5 separate regions of the Homo sapiens genome follow, and regions 1, 2, 3 and 4 are each linked to region 5. Evidence: promoter capture Hi-C in 16 types of primary human blood cells and fetal thymus (Javierre and others, 2016). All regions are on one chromosome and are shown on one strand. The core of a region is centred on a gene start or on the middle of the fragment in contact, and the rest is flanking DNA. Distances in the headings are between cores, read along the strand shown. Region 1 overlaps PUM3 (pumilio RNA binding family member 3). Region 2 has its middle 6.2 kb from the start of PUM3. Region 3 overlaps KCNV2 (potassium voltage-gated channel modifier subfamily V member 2). Region 4 has its middle 46 kb from the start of KCNV2. Region 5 holds the start of SMARCA2 (SWI/SNF related BAF chromatin remodeling complex subunit ATPase 2).

The links. Contacts are between HindIII fragments. The CHiCAGO score rates a contact against its expected background, and 5 or more counts as called.
Region 1: a contact is called between a fragment that was not itself captured here and the fragment with the promoter of SMARCA2 in region 5, in 2 of 17 cell types (megakaryocytes and erythroblasts). The highest score is 7.2, in megakaryocytes.
Region 2: a fragment that was not itself captured here is called in contact with the fragment with the promoter of SMARCA2 in region 5 in 4 of 17 cell types (activated CD4 T cells, naive CD8 T cells, non-activated CD4 T cells and 1 more); the score reaches 7.1 in activated CD4 T cells.
Region 3: a contact is called between a fragment that was not itself captured here and the fragment with the promoter of SMARCA2 in region 5, in 1 of 17 cell types (endothelial precursors). The highest score is 5.6, in endothelial precursors.
Region 4: a contact is called between a fragment that was not itself captured here and the fragment with the promoter of SMARCA2 in region 5, in 2 of 17 cell types (M1 macrophages and M0 macrophages). The highest score is 5.2, in M1 macrophages.

What each region holds. Positions count from the first base shown.
Region 1 is chr9:2,816,144-2,818,843 of GRCh38, forward strand. All of the region lies in intron 13 of PUM3 (pumilio RNA binding family member 3), which reads right to left. Among named protein-coding and RNA genes, the nearest start is that of PUM3, 27 kb to the right of the region's middle. The HindIII fragment of the contact is 1,154 bases long and covers 806-1,959 here.
Region 2 is chr9:2,848,964-2,851,663 of GRCh38, forward strand. No RefSeq gene overlaps it. Among named protein-coding and RNA genes, the nearest start is that of PUM3, 6.2 kb to the left of the region's middle. The HindIII fragment of the contact is 3,362 bases long and covers 1-2,700 here.
Region 3 is chr9:2,727,939-2,730,638 of GRCh38, forward strand. It overlaps KCNV2 (potassium voltage-gated channel modifier subfamily V member 2), which reads left to right. Exons shown (of 2, transcript NM_133497.4): 2 at 1,508-2,099. The coding sequence ends at 1,789. Among named protein-coding and RNA genes, the nearest start is that of KCNV2, 12 kb to the left of the region's middle. The HindIII fragment of the contact is 1,615 bases long and covers 573-2,187 here.
Region 4 is chr9:2,762,255-2,764,954 of GRCh38, forward strand. No RefSeq gene overlaps it. Among named protein-coding and RNA genes, the nearest start is that of KCNV2, 46 kb to the left of the region's middle. The HindIII fragment of the contact is 3,526 bases long and covers 1-2,700 here.
Region 5 is chr9:2,013,902-2,016,601 of GRCh38, forward strand. It overlaps SMARCA2 (SWI/SNF related BAF chromatin remodeling complex subunit ATPase 2), which reads left to right and starts at 1,446. Exons shown (of 34, transcript NM_003070.5): 1 at 1,446-1,503. RefSeq lists enhancers at 946-995, 1,056-1,105, 1,892-2,448 and silencers at 1,156-1,495, 2,636-2,700. The HindIII fragment of the contact is 4,329 bases long and covers 630-2,700 here.

The DNA of each region.
Region 1 (2,700 bases), core at 133-2,632, 800 kb after region 5:
TACGGTAGTTTGCTATGGGGACAAAAAGAAATGCAGACTACTGCATAGAACCTAAAAGCTAGTGAAGAGGGAAGAGAGTTAATAAAAAGTTAAAACTAAGAGATTTAACTAATGGATAACAGAAATATAGAGGGCAGGTTAGATCATCAGGCAGCTTCCCAAGTATTTTGTTCTGAAAACAGGGTGACTGTTTCCAAAAGTCTACCTTTTCAGCTGCACTAAAAAAACTGGAAGGTCTAGTTTAGTGGGTACGCTGCTTCATTCAGTTTTGCAAAATAAAAAAAGTCCTGGAGATTGCCTAACAATGAGCATATTTAATACTACTTAACTGTATCCTTCAAAATGGTTAACATGCTAAATTTTGTTATATGTAGTTTACCTCAATTAAAAAGAAAACAAATGTGAAGATCTATCGCCATGGAGCTCACACTGCCAGGGACTGGAGCTGAATGGTGCCCACCACCTTGCAGAGGGTGTGTGCTCTCGCCATTTCCTACAGTCCCTCCCACATCTCCTTGTCTCACACCTGGCCTGGCCACTCATTTACCTATCTGGTCAATGAAGGTTTGCAGGTTTGTGAGCCCTGGGTGAGATCATGATTAACTGCTCAAGGAAAGGATGGCAAAGAAAAAGACTATAGTAGTTGAGTGGGTGGGGAGACCACATCTGACTAGAAGATCACTATCTGCTGATTACACTAGAGCTTAGTCTTAACAGAAAACAAGCAGTGATTATCGGGCTATGATTTCAACTTGACATTTTGGGAAATCTAGTTACTCTAAATGGAATGCTTAGCAACACACTAAGCTTTCTTGGCTATTTTTAAAAGCACTGCGTAATGCAATGGTTTCGTAGTGGCTGAGTGGGAAATAGGAACACGTGACTCTCTATATAAACATACATGCAGCAAATTTGGCAGCCCAGCAATTCTGCTAAGTGCCTTAGAGAAACTTAACATGTACCCAAGGAAATATACACAAGAATGTTCAAGGATTTGGATTAGCAAAAATTAAGAATTAAAGTTAGTTTTTAAAATTGTAAACAACCTAAACATCCATCACCAGGAAAACAGAAAATAAATCGCAGTATAGTCACATGTAATAGAATACTATTTGGCAGTGAAAAATAAATGATTTAGAATAGGGATGGGTAAACTATGGCCCATTGGTCAAATTCAGCCTATAGCCTGTTTTTGTCCATCTTGCAAGCTAATAATGGTTTTTACATTTCAAAAGGGTTTTAAAAAACAAAAACAAAATGCACAAGAATACATGATAGGACCATATATACCCCACAAAGGCTAAAATAATTATTAACTGGCCCTTTATAAAAAGGCTTGCTGACCCCTGACAATAAATCTCACAAACATGAGAAAAGAAAAAAAGCAAGATGCAGAAAAATACATGTAAGACATCATTTATACAGAACTTGCAAACATGTAAAATAAAATTAGATACATGTTTTACAAAATAAAAAATGTCCACATATAGTGAAAGGATAAGGAAATGCAGATGAATAATAAATACCAAATTTATCATAGTAGATATGGGGCGATGATAGGATATCAGGGATGGGTACACAAAGGGCTTAAACTTGAACTGTATTTGTCAAGTTTTATTTCATGTCAGGTGGTGGGAGGCTGGATGTTCACTGTATTATTCATACCTTTCTGTATATTTTAAAGACAATGGCTTTAAAAATATGCATCAATATTTATTCACCCTCAAACAGCAATTGGCTAGTATACTTATTTACTTTCCAGCGACCATTGCTGTCAAACCGTCTGCATATCAATTGACTGCAAAGGTAAACTGGATGAAACTTTATGTTTATTTAGGAAAGTAGTAAGAAAGAGCTCGTATCCATTTTGAAAGGCGAAGAGCTCAGCTGACCAGGCTGTGATTTCAACCTGACATTTTGGGAAGTCTGGTGCCCTGAACAGAGTGCTTAGCAACACTAAGCTTTCCTGGTTATTTTTAAAAAGCACTGCATACTGCAACTGTTTTTGTGGTGGATGAGTGATGGGAAAAATCCAAGGGCAATTAGCATTCCAGAATTTTATCACGAGCTACACAGTTTAATAATACACAGAACCTGTTGAACGTTTGTCAGTTACAGGAAAGAGATCGGCAAATCAGGCCATTCAGGGAAAGCTGCCCTAAGTATGAGAAAGTCGTTAAGAATGTGGGTTAAGCAGTTGTGGGAATCAAAGTGATAAGCATAAGGAATTAAAACTTTTTCAACAGCAACTTTAAGTGGCATACATCTTTGGAAAAAAATTAACAGACAATTCTGGCAAATCATGAAGGAAATTTGGTTTCTCTTGAAATCCATTTGGAACAGCTATGCACATTTTAGTTGTCGTGAAAATATTAAACAAAAGCAAACTTTCAATATCCCAGCCTGTTTCCATTTCTGTGAAACAACTTTATTCATCAGCCAATTCTATGGCCTCACATCTCTGTCACAAGAATGAAAAACAATCATTATTGATTGGAGTCAAAAGGGTAATAAAGTCACAAGGAACATGTCAAAATACTCAGTTTGTAACATGAAAGTCTTGCCAACTTGTTTCTTCCCACAATCCTATCCCAAAGAAAGTCATCACAATCTTAAAACAGTCAAGGGTAAAGTTGGAAAATGACAGCAAGGGCATGAGAAATTCACACACACTGGGACCTACGGCTGGCATCTAAGAAA
Region 2 (2,700 bases), core at 49-2,548, 830 kb after region 5:
ATGAGATACCATGTCACACCAGTTAGAATGGCGATCATTAAAAAGTCAGGAAACGACAGGTGCTGGTGAGGATGTGGAGAAACAGGAACACTTTTACACTGCTGGTGGGACCGTAAACTAGTTCAACCATTGTGGAAGACAGTGTGGCAATTCCTCAAGGACCTAGAACTAGAAATATTTGACCCACCCATCCCATTACTGGACATATACCCAAAGGATTATAAATCATGCTGCTGTAAAGACACATGCACACGTGTGTTTATTGCGGCACTATTTACAATAGCAAAGACTTGGAACCAACCCAAATGTCCATCAGTGATAGACTGGATTAAGCAAATGTGGCACATATACACCACGGAATACTATGCAGCCATAAAAAAGGATGAGTTCATGTCCTTGGTAGGGACATGGATGAAGCTGGAAACCATCATTCTCAGCAAACTATCTCAAGGACGAAAAACCAAACACCACATGTTCTCACTCATAGATGGGAATTGAACAATGAGAACACTTGGACACAGGGTGGGGAGCATCACACACTGGGGCCTGTCATGGGCTGGGGGGAGGGGGGAGGTATATCATTAGGAGATACACCTAATGTAAATGATGAGTTAACGGGTGCAGCACACCAACATGGCACATGTATGCATATGTAACCTGCACGTTGTGCACATGTACCCTAGAACTTAAAGTATAATAAAAAAATTAAAAATAGAAAAAAAAGAATTTTCTAATTATTCCTCCCACTTTTTAAAACTATAGAAATTTCATGTTGGTACTTAGAATAATGATCTAGCTCTACTTACCTACCCAATATTCCTCTCTTCCTTTATTTTTTTTTCTTTTTTGGAGAGACAGGTTTTGCTATGTTGCCCAGACTGGTCTTGAACTCTTGACCTCAAGTGATCCTCCCACCTCGGTCTTCCAAAGTGCTGGGATTAATGGGCATGAGCAGCTGTGCCCAGCCTACCTCTTCCTTTTAAGATGAAGAAATAAATTAACCCACTTGCTCAAACCTATTATGTCAATTTAAATTCTCCAGGAAGCAGATGTCAAGATAGAATTAGGCCAAGAGACATGTTGTGAGAAAAACTTCACAATAAGCTGAGGGGAGAGGAAATAGCAGTAAATAGGGAGCACCCGATACCATGATACAGCTCTGACGTGTGTCGAGAGAGAGGCGGAAGGAGGATGTGGTAGAAAGTCTTCAGGCTGTAGTAAAGCTCTGAGAAAGCCTCGGCGAGGCCAGCATGGCACTGCAGAGCAAAGATTTCTCCTTAAAGGAAAGCTAAATTGAGTAGGAAAGGCCCAGCTCAAGTACCCCTGCTGTGCTCAGTCATTGGCTGGGAGCAACCCAGGGAGTGCATGGCCTCAGCATGAATGCTGCAGTGGATGCTGAAGTTGTGGCAGCTGGAGGCATAAGCTAACTACACCTCTCGCAGCCGGTTCTCTCTTGAAAGGAGATTGGAGCAGTTCACTCCATGGCTGCCAGAGTCTACCCCTCACACAGCACAGGGCTATTTCTCCATGTGTGTTTGGGGAGTGGCTCCTCCATTGTTCCTATGGCCCTCTGCTCAGGAGGGGAATGTTAGAAGAGAGAGACCAGGGGGACAAAGTATAGTCTCCTGGGGGCTGCAGCAAGTACTCATCATCTCACTCCAGCACTATCCATTCTAAATTCACCTCATCCTTGGCTATTAGCTTGGCAGGTCTTGATGACTAACCTGGTCATGTGACTTAAACCATTGGTTTTACAGGGTCTGAGACTCTAGTAATCATAACCTCTAAGCCAAGGGTTGCTTCCTATGTTCATTTACCATTACAGTGGGGGCTAAGGAGAACTGAGAAATACCTAAGTGGATCGCCTAGGTTCTATATGTATTCCTCCATGTCTCAGTTGACCAAAAGCAGTCCTATCTCCTCTAGTTATCGGAGTTAATCACACTTGCCCAGATGGAGACGCCCCTTCTTACCTGTTAATCTTGTACACAAGGAGTCCAAAATGTCCAGGAGACACCCGTAGTTCAATGAAACTCTTGCTCTGTCCCCTGGCAAGAGTGTGCCTCCTTTGAAGACAAGGACTTCTAAACCTGCAGAGCCCAGAGTTAAGGCGACAGGAAACATGCATTTCCCCAGAGGGCCATTGAGAATAATGGTAAGAATGATGATTCCTGCTTCTTTCCCCTGGTTCCTTGACCCATGTATTCTTATTAGGAGCATAGCACTCTATGGAGATCTCTGATTTATTTATTCTGCATTCTGGAGGATAGCACCTCCTTTTTGTAGACTATTGCCTGTAAACTGGTACTCCAGCTGTGCCTTCGATAGGCCACTGCAATGTTCTATTGTGGGTTGGTTGCCTCTTGATGGAGCATCTGTGATGTCATCTGGGAATCACATGACCATGGGCTCACTTCTGCACCCACTTTGCTGTGAGTTGTGGCCCCTGTTTGGATGCTATGTTACATAGGTTTACATGCTTGTGGATCATGCACTGCATAAACGTCTGGATATTGATGCTGGCTGAGGCTCTGTGGGTGGGAAAGGCAAACTCATATTTGGAATAAGACTATCCCACTGAGGGGAAACTGTTGGCCCTTCCAGAATAAAAGGAGCCCAAATGTTGTCAAGTTGCCACTGAGTGGCTTGTTGGTCTCTTTAGGAAATAGGGCCATTTCAGGAGTGCTGCATTTGTTCCTG
Region 3 (2,700 bases), core at 130-2,629, 710 kb after region 5:
GATGCCTGCTTGTATTTTGACTCTGCAGAAAAAGGCTGCATGACCTCTCACAAGAGACAGGGCAGTGAGTGACAGGAGGTGCATCATCAGCCTCAAAAAGGAGGCATACCCTTCCTTTTTTCGTGGGCTGGATGGAGCTGTGGTTCTCATCAGTGCCCTCAGTTTTGTGCAGCTGGCTCACTTCTCCATTTCATTCTAATCAGTCAACTGCACTATTCCAGGTTCAAACTAACCCTTACATCATCAAAACAAAAATATTTACACTGCTAAGCTAACGGCCACCTCAGCACGGATCAACAAGATGACCATATGCTTTACTGCCGTCTGCTGGAAAATTATGGCAACAACTACCCAAATACACAAAGCAAAGAGTGCCCCCCTGGAGTAGTGCAACGCAAAAATGTTTACAACTGTGACCAACAGCTCTGCTTAAAAGGCTTCTAGTAATTTAGCCAATACTCTGGGGATCAGAGGGAGTACATGAGGCATAAAAAACAGTCCCCAAGGAATTTTCACAGGGTTTTCTCTGGTAACTGATAACTAGTCCCATGGTATCTGCATTTTAAAACAGAAGCTTGTTAACCTAAATAAGTCTCCAATTAGTGGGATTTAAATCAGTATGACAAGAGTAATGGGAAGTATTTCATGCAGGGGTGAACATATTTTTGGTGAGTGATGTCTTACAAAAGTCCCTTTACAAAATAATGAGAGTGTTTCTCCAGACATCTGCAATTAAAGCACCTTCACATAAAGTCTCTCATTTGAACTACGTAACAACTTTGAAAAGTGTTATAACTGTCTTCATTTTAAAGATGAGAGGAAGACAATGGAGGAGTTTCATGCCTTTTGTATGCCTGGTACTGTGTTCAGTGCTTTATATTCATTTTCTTATTTAGCCTTCACAAGAATCCTAAGAGTTAGATGGTTTTCTCCTGTTTTAAATAAAAAAAAAAAAAAAGAAAAAAAGAAAAAGAGAGAGAGAGAGTCTGAAGGTTTTGCCCCAGGTCACTCAACTGGAAAGGTTCAGAGTCAGGACTTGAACCCAGGTCTGACTGTTCTAAGCCCAAGATTTTTCCAATACATACAGTGTACAGGCAAACCCAGGGACCTGCTTTCCTGAATCTGGTGCCAGCTGAGTTAGGGAGGCAAAGATCATTTACTGAGCACGTTCTACATCAGGTACTTAACATACTATTTTAAATGCTCTTTACAGCAACCATTTCAAGTAGGTATTACCTCCTCCTCCCATATCTTACATTCAAACATGCATGAGTCGTAGTCAGGATTTCAGCCAAAGTCTTTCAGCTCCATCCATAGCTTCTGTTCTTTTCATGACACAGGTCCTAGAGGGAGTCTTCCTGGTACCTCCTAAAGCAGGCTCCGTGGGAAGCCATTACACTTCCCATGTGTACCCACAGGGAGGACGCTTCCCTGCTTGCTCCTCTCCCTTTCTTCTCCTCCCCGATCTTAGTGCTAACAATTCCATCCTGCTTTCCTTCCTCTACAGGTGAGCATCTCCACCGTGGGCTACGGAGACATGTACCCAGAGACCCACCTGGGCAGGTTTTTTGCCTTCCTCTGCATTGCTTTTGGGATCATTCTCAACGGGATGCCCATTTCCATCCTCTACAACAAGTTTTCTGATTACTACAGCAAGCTGAAGGCTTATGAGTATACCACCATACGCAGGGAGAGGGGAGAGGTGAACTTCATGCAGAGAGCCAGAAAGAAGATAGCTGAGTGTTTGCTTGGAAGCAACCCACAGCTCACCCCAAGACAAGAGAATTAGTATTTTATAGGACATGTGGCTGGTAGATTCCATGAACTTCAAGGCTTCATTGCTCTTTTTTTAATCATTATGATTGGCAGCAAAAGGAAATGTGAAGCAGACATACACAAAGGCCATTTCGTTCACAAAGTACTGCCTCTAGAAATACTCATTTTGGCCCAAACTCAGAATGTCTCATAGTTGCTCTGTGTTGTGTGAAACATCTGACCTTCTCAATGACGTTGATATTGAAAACCTGAGGGGAGCAACAGCTTAGATTTTTCTTGTAGCTTCTCGTGGCATCTAGCTCAATAAATATTTTTGGACTTGAGTTGACTTGAGAAAATTTTTTTTACTTTAAATTTTTCTAAAATTCTTAACTTTCCAGAGGGAGGGAGGGTTACAGCAGAAATTATACAAGCTTTGGAGTTAGACCAACCTTAGTCAGAATCCCAGAGCTACCAGCTGTATGCTTTTAGGCAAGCGACTCTAACCCTTTAAGCCTCAGTTTCTTCAACTGTGAAATGTAGGCAATACTTACCCTGCCAGGCTGAGCAATATAGTGAGACCCTGCCTCTACAAAAACTTATTAAGAATTATCTGGGTGTGCTGGCCCACACCTGTAGTCCCAGCTACTTGGAAGACTGAGGTGAGATCACTTGAGCCCAGGAGTTTGAGGTTAGAGTAAGCTATAACCACATTACTGCACTCCAATCTAGATGGCAGAGTAAGACCCTGCCTCAAATAAATAAATAAATAAATAAATAAATAAAACCACCTGCCTTGTAAAATGAGTCTGGGGATAACAGATATGTGTAAACGCTCAATAAATGATAGGTATTAAAATTGTTTAAGTGGATGTTATCTAGTGAAATCTCTAGACCAGTGGTTCTCAAAGGCAAATTCATTCCTCAGAGGCCAGCTAATGCCTA
Region 4 (2,700 bases), core at 105-2,604, 750 kb after region 5:
AGAGGAATCCTCACAGACAGCAGCTTTCAGGGAGAATAGAAGTGTGTGTGCGTGTGTGTGTGTGTGTGTGTTTTCCGGACTTTTAAAAGTGTCCAACTCTCAGTTAATCTTTCTAAATCCAGACAAGGGAAGGCTTCATTAATGAAGGTCTCTCCAGATGCAAATTTTCCTCACTAAAGACAGCTTTGCAGGGACACTTCTGTTTGCTGACCCTCTGACAGCCATCTCAAAATAGGACAAATAAATATATTTAGGAGTGAAATATTTTTATTTCCTTCAAAATCTATGTTCTGCTTTAGGCAAATAGAGGCAGGGCTGAGAACTTCCCTGCATCTACTTCTTAATTGTCTTCAGCTCAACAATTCTTTCTATTTTGGGGAGGCACATGCTGGTCTCCCACATTATCATCCTCTGTATGGCAAAAAACCTAGTCTTAAATAATCATGTACTTCTCCACTGGCACAAGATATTTTCTGAGTCCTCTAGACCTGGCTTTAACCACTCCTACCCTCATTTTTATAAGGAAAAGTAAAGAGAAAATAAAAAGGCTAGTAAAATGGAAATCTGCATACCCTCCACCTAGATTCTCCACCTGTCAACATTTTATATTTTACTTTAGCATTCTCTTTCTCTCTGCACACAAATACTTTCCCTCTCTCTCTCTTTAAAAAATAAATGGGTAGTTTTAGTGTAATCACTCAACAACGTCTCCCTGCCCATTGCACAGACAAAATCAATTCACTGAGACTGCAGCACAGCAGTAAGGAAAGAGTTTAACTGACACAAGGCTAGCCATGTGGGAGATGAAGTAATTACTAAAATCAGTCTCCCCATAAGTTTGGAGGTTAGGGTTTTACAAGGACAGTTTGGTGGGCAGGGGGCTAGGGAATGGGGGATGTTCATTGATTGGGGATGAAATCACAGGGGTCTGGAAAACAGTTCTCATGCTCTCAGCCCACCTGTGGGGGCCACAGGACTGGTTGAGTCATGAATTGAGGGTCTGTGTGGAGTCAGAAATGCAAAAGTCTAAAAAACATCTCAAAAAGCTAATGTTAGGTTTCACAATAGTGATGTTATCTAGGGGAATCATTGGGGAAATTGCAAGTCTTGTTACCTCCAGAACAAGGGCTGGTAATCATTTAACTACGCCTACATCTCAGCAGAATTCAGGCCCCTCTCATAATCACAACCTTGCGAACTTAGTTTTATAGAGGTGGTTTAGTTTGGGGAAGGGCTATTATCATCCTTGCTTTAAAGTTAAACCATAAACCTAATTCCTGCCAAACCTAGCTTGGCTTATGCCCAGGAATGACCAAGGACAACTTGGAGGTTAGAATCAAGATGGAGTAACTATGTCAGATTTCTCTTACTGTCAAAATTTTGCAAAGGCGTTTTCACTTCTGGCACCCAAATCTGCAAATGAGGGGAGTTGGGCTGACTAGCATATCTCTAAGGACCCTGGGATTCAAAATTATATGTGGATGGGTGCTTTCTGTGTATATGCCCTTATTGTTCCTTAAAAAAAATAATGGTGTTGCAAACTCACATCTCACCATACATTCCCGGGAAAATCAGCCAAATCCAGAATAAATGTGCATGATCCTTGCCAGCTGAAAAAGGATTAAAAAGAGAGAAAACACCTGGCACAGGCCCTTGAAATACTTTTGCTCAAGTCTATTAAACAAGGCACAAATAACACTTGAGATTGCGATAATCTAATAATCTTTTTGTGAACACTATAGCTAAAGATAGATATGAGCAGGGGCTTCATCAAGAAAGGAGGGCAAGGCTGGGCGTGGTGACTCATGCCTGTAATTCTAGCATTTTGGGAGGCTGAGATGGGTGGATCACCTGAGGTCAGGGGTTTGAGGCCAGCCTCGCCAACATGGTGAAACCCTGACTCTATAAAAATGCAAAAATTAGCCAGGCATGGTGGCAGGTGCCTGTTATCCCACCTACTTGGAAGCCTGAGGGAGGTGAATCACTTGAACCCAGGAGGTGGAGGTTGCAGTGGGCACTATTGCACTCTAGCCTGAGTGACAGAGTGAGACTCCATCTCAAAAAAAAAAAAAAAAAAAAAAAAGAGAAACAAAAGAAAGGAGGACAATGCACTCATATTCTCAGACCGCTTCATTATAGAGTTCTTATTACCAGCATAACATTGCCTGCCACTGACTCAGAGTCACACGTCTCTGCTCCACAAAGAAAGAAGCTGTCCTTGCCGTGGGTGACAGCCATTGAGAACTACAGACTTCTCTCCTGCTTGAGAGAAATGCGGCACAGGAAACAGCAAGAATAATTCTGATCAGTGGTTGTCAGGCAGTTTTGTAACTTACAAAGTATTTTCCCTTGTAGAGTTTGGTTCATCTAAGATCATGGAAACAGGAAGTGGCAAACTCCACAGTAGCCACAGACAGGAGCTATGACCAGGGCCTCATATGATGCTCACAGCAGTAAGGCTTGGCTCTATATACCAACACAGGTATATAATAAAAGGAAATTAAAATATTTTATCCTAGGCCAGGCGTGGTGGCTCATGCCTGTAATCCTAGCACTTTGGGAGGGCAAGCTGGGCAGATCACTTGAGGTCAGGGGTTCAACACAAGCCTGGCCAATATGGTAAAACCCCATCTCTACCAACAATACAAAAATTAGCTGGGCATGACGGTGCATGCCTGTAATCCCAGCTACTAGGGAGGC
Region 5 (2,700 bases), core at 196-2,695:
TAGGGGGAAGAATCCTCAACCAGATAGTCACAGTGCACTTTGAATGACTAATTTAAGCCATTACATTACGAAATAAGGGATAAATCATACTTTTCATAACACTACTGCATAGGAACAGTTTTAAGAGTCAAGCATCTACATTAATCTGAGTCTAAAATAATAGGCCCCTGATTTAAAGTCTCCTAACATTCTTTCACACTTCATAAAACTAAAAATAAAATTGTCTCACCAAACACCGACCTATTGGTCCGGCCAAAGTACTGTATTTCAAGGAAAATTGGAGCAAAGAGGTCTCAAAACCGCGACTTGCCAGCAAATTACAATTTGCAGCCTTAATTGGTCTCAAATGCGGGGTGAGAGGGAAGAGACTACGGTCTGTAGAAAATAAGAGATTTATTCCCCTTTTTAAATCAAAACCAGATTCCATGCTTCAGCCGCCCCCTAACCCGCCAGCCCCGCCCCCAGGGTTTGTTTTTCCATATTTTTGTATATATTTTAGCGAAGATGGCAGGTGAGGGAAGGTTATAGTGCTGTACCTAGTCCACGAAGTAAACAGAGAGGTTAGGGTGGGTTTACTTATTTATAAGGCGTTCAGCCTCTCAGCTGTTTCTCCCTCGTTGGCATTTGGAAGCTTGCAGTCCTTCAGGGAAGAGACAGATTTGGCAGGAACGTTCTTTGTGCCCGCCTCCCTTTTCTATTTTTTATTTTTTTACCTGGAATAGGGGGCAGATTTATAATGACAGCCTTAGGGAAGGGGGAGAAAAAGTTTCAGCCGGCACGACAATGCCCGTTTTTTCCACAGTCCACACTGTGCCACAAACAGCTTTGGTGCCACTCGGAGCCCGTCCCCCGTCCCCTCCCTCTCTCTCTGCAGGCTCGCACTGGCAGGCGGAGGCACAGTTAAATTCCAGCACCTTCTCCACATACCCCCGAACTACTACGCGCTATTACTACGGCTGCCCTCCGTTTTCGCTTCGCCTCCTCCCCTTCCGCAGTCTCCCTGGAGGAGCCCCGCGGCGCCCGAGGAAGAGGACTGCCAGGGAAGGGACAGCGGGCGCCCAGCTCCAGCAGGGCTTGGGGCTTTCTGCATCCCGCGCAGTTTCTCTGCTCCAGGCACAAACGCGGCCCGAGAGCCGGCGCCTTGCAGTCACACACGGATCCACGCATACAGTAGAGCTGTCTAGATCCACATTCTTGCACACCGCCCCCTCCTCCCCCCGCGCTCCCGGAGTCGCTGAGCTGAGCGAGTGACAGGCGCGTCCCGCCAACCCGCGCCCGGACGGGCAGGGAGGAGCGGCGCGCGGGGCCAACTGCGGCGCGTCTTCCGGCGCCCGCGGAGGAGGCGAGGGTGGGACGCTGGGCGGAGCCCGAGTTTAGGAAGAGGAGGGGACGGCTGTCATCAATGAAGTCATATTCATAATCTAGTCCTCTCTCCCTCTGTTTCTGTACTCTGGGTGACTCAGAGAGGGAAGAGATTCAGCCAGCACACTCCTCGCGAGCAAGGTAAATATAACTTACAACTCTTTTCTCCTCTTTCCCCTCCCTTCGGCCGCCCCGCTGCAGCCGCCGCTCAGACCCCTCCGGCACCACGCCGCCTTCGCCCGGGATTATCCATTATTATCCTAATTATTATTTATTGTGCATGCAAGGAGACCAAAACAAACAGGCGGGCCAACCGCCGCGACAAAAAAAAGCCCGCCTCCTCCCCGCGGGCCTCAGGTGGAATGCTCTAACGACAGCTCCCAGGCGGCGGTGGAAGAAACGAGAAAGTTTCAACCGAACCTTGCTGTTCTAATAATAACAGTAATAATTACTACTTCAAGGGGGCAAAGGAGGAAAAAAATCCCAACAAGCCACAGCCTTGATCCTGAGTGGGCAGTCAGAGGCGCTGCCAACTCAAGGTTGCAACACACACATTGGGCCAGGTTGCAATCCCCCCATCCCCTTAAAAGTGAGGCGGCGGGGAGGGGGGTGGCCGCAGGAGGGGGAAGGCCTGGGGGACAGGGGAGGAGGATGGAAACGCTACTGTTCATCCCGGGCAACCCTCCCCGGAAGAGTTGGAAGGGGAACGGGAAAGGAGGGCGGGGAGCCCAGGCTGGCGGCGGGGCGCCAACGGACGCTGTTGCCACCCGCTTCCCAGGGACTTGTTCAAAGGGCTCCGGCTGCGGAGACGTGAGCGGATCGCAGCGGGAGAAGCCTGAGCTGACGCGCGAAGGAGGTAGCGGCCACTGCCGCGGGGCCGGTGCGTGCCTGATCGGAGGTGTCACCTCCACTTTCCGCGTTTCCTCCGGCGTGGATGGGGAGGCTGATTGGTAGGCAGGCCTTTAGGCAAAGGGGCTGCCAGGGGGCTGCGCCCCGGGCGCTGCGGACGTCCCTGCCTCTGGTACCTGGCGGCAGCGCAGGCTCGGGTGTTAAAGTTCGGGATGTCCGGCCCGGGCCGCACTGCTGGAGGGAAGGGAGGAGGCCCCCAAGGAGGTCGGAGGTGCCCGCCAGCCTCCGTTACCCTGCCCTCCCTCTCCCCGGGTCCGTGTTCTTTTGCTTCGCGTCTTCCCCTTGCTTGCGCCGCGGGAGCTGCGGGCGTGGGGCGCCTGCGATCGTCCGGGTGCTAGGGGCGCGCCGGGACCCAGGAGAGCCACGGCGGCGGCTGCGGGCCCGGGAGGCCATGATCCGGATAATCCTGTCTGCCTGACTGTCACAAAC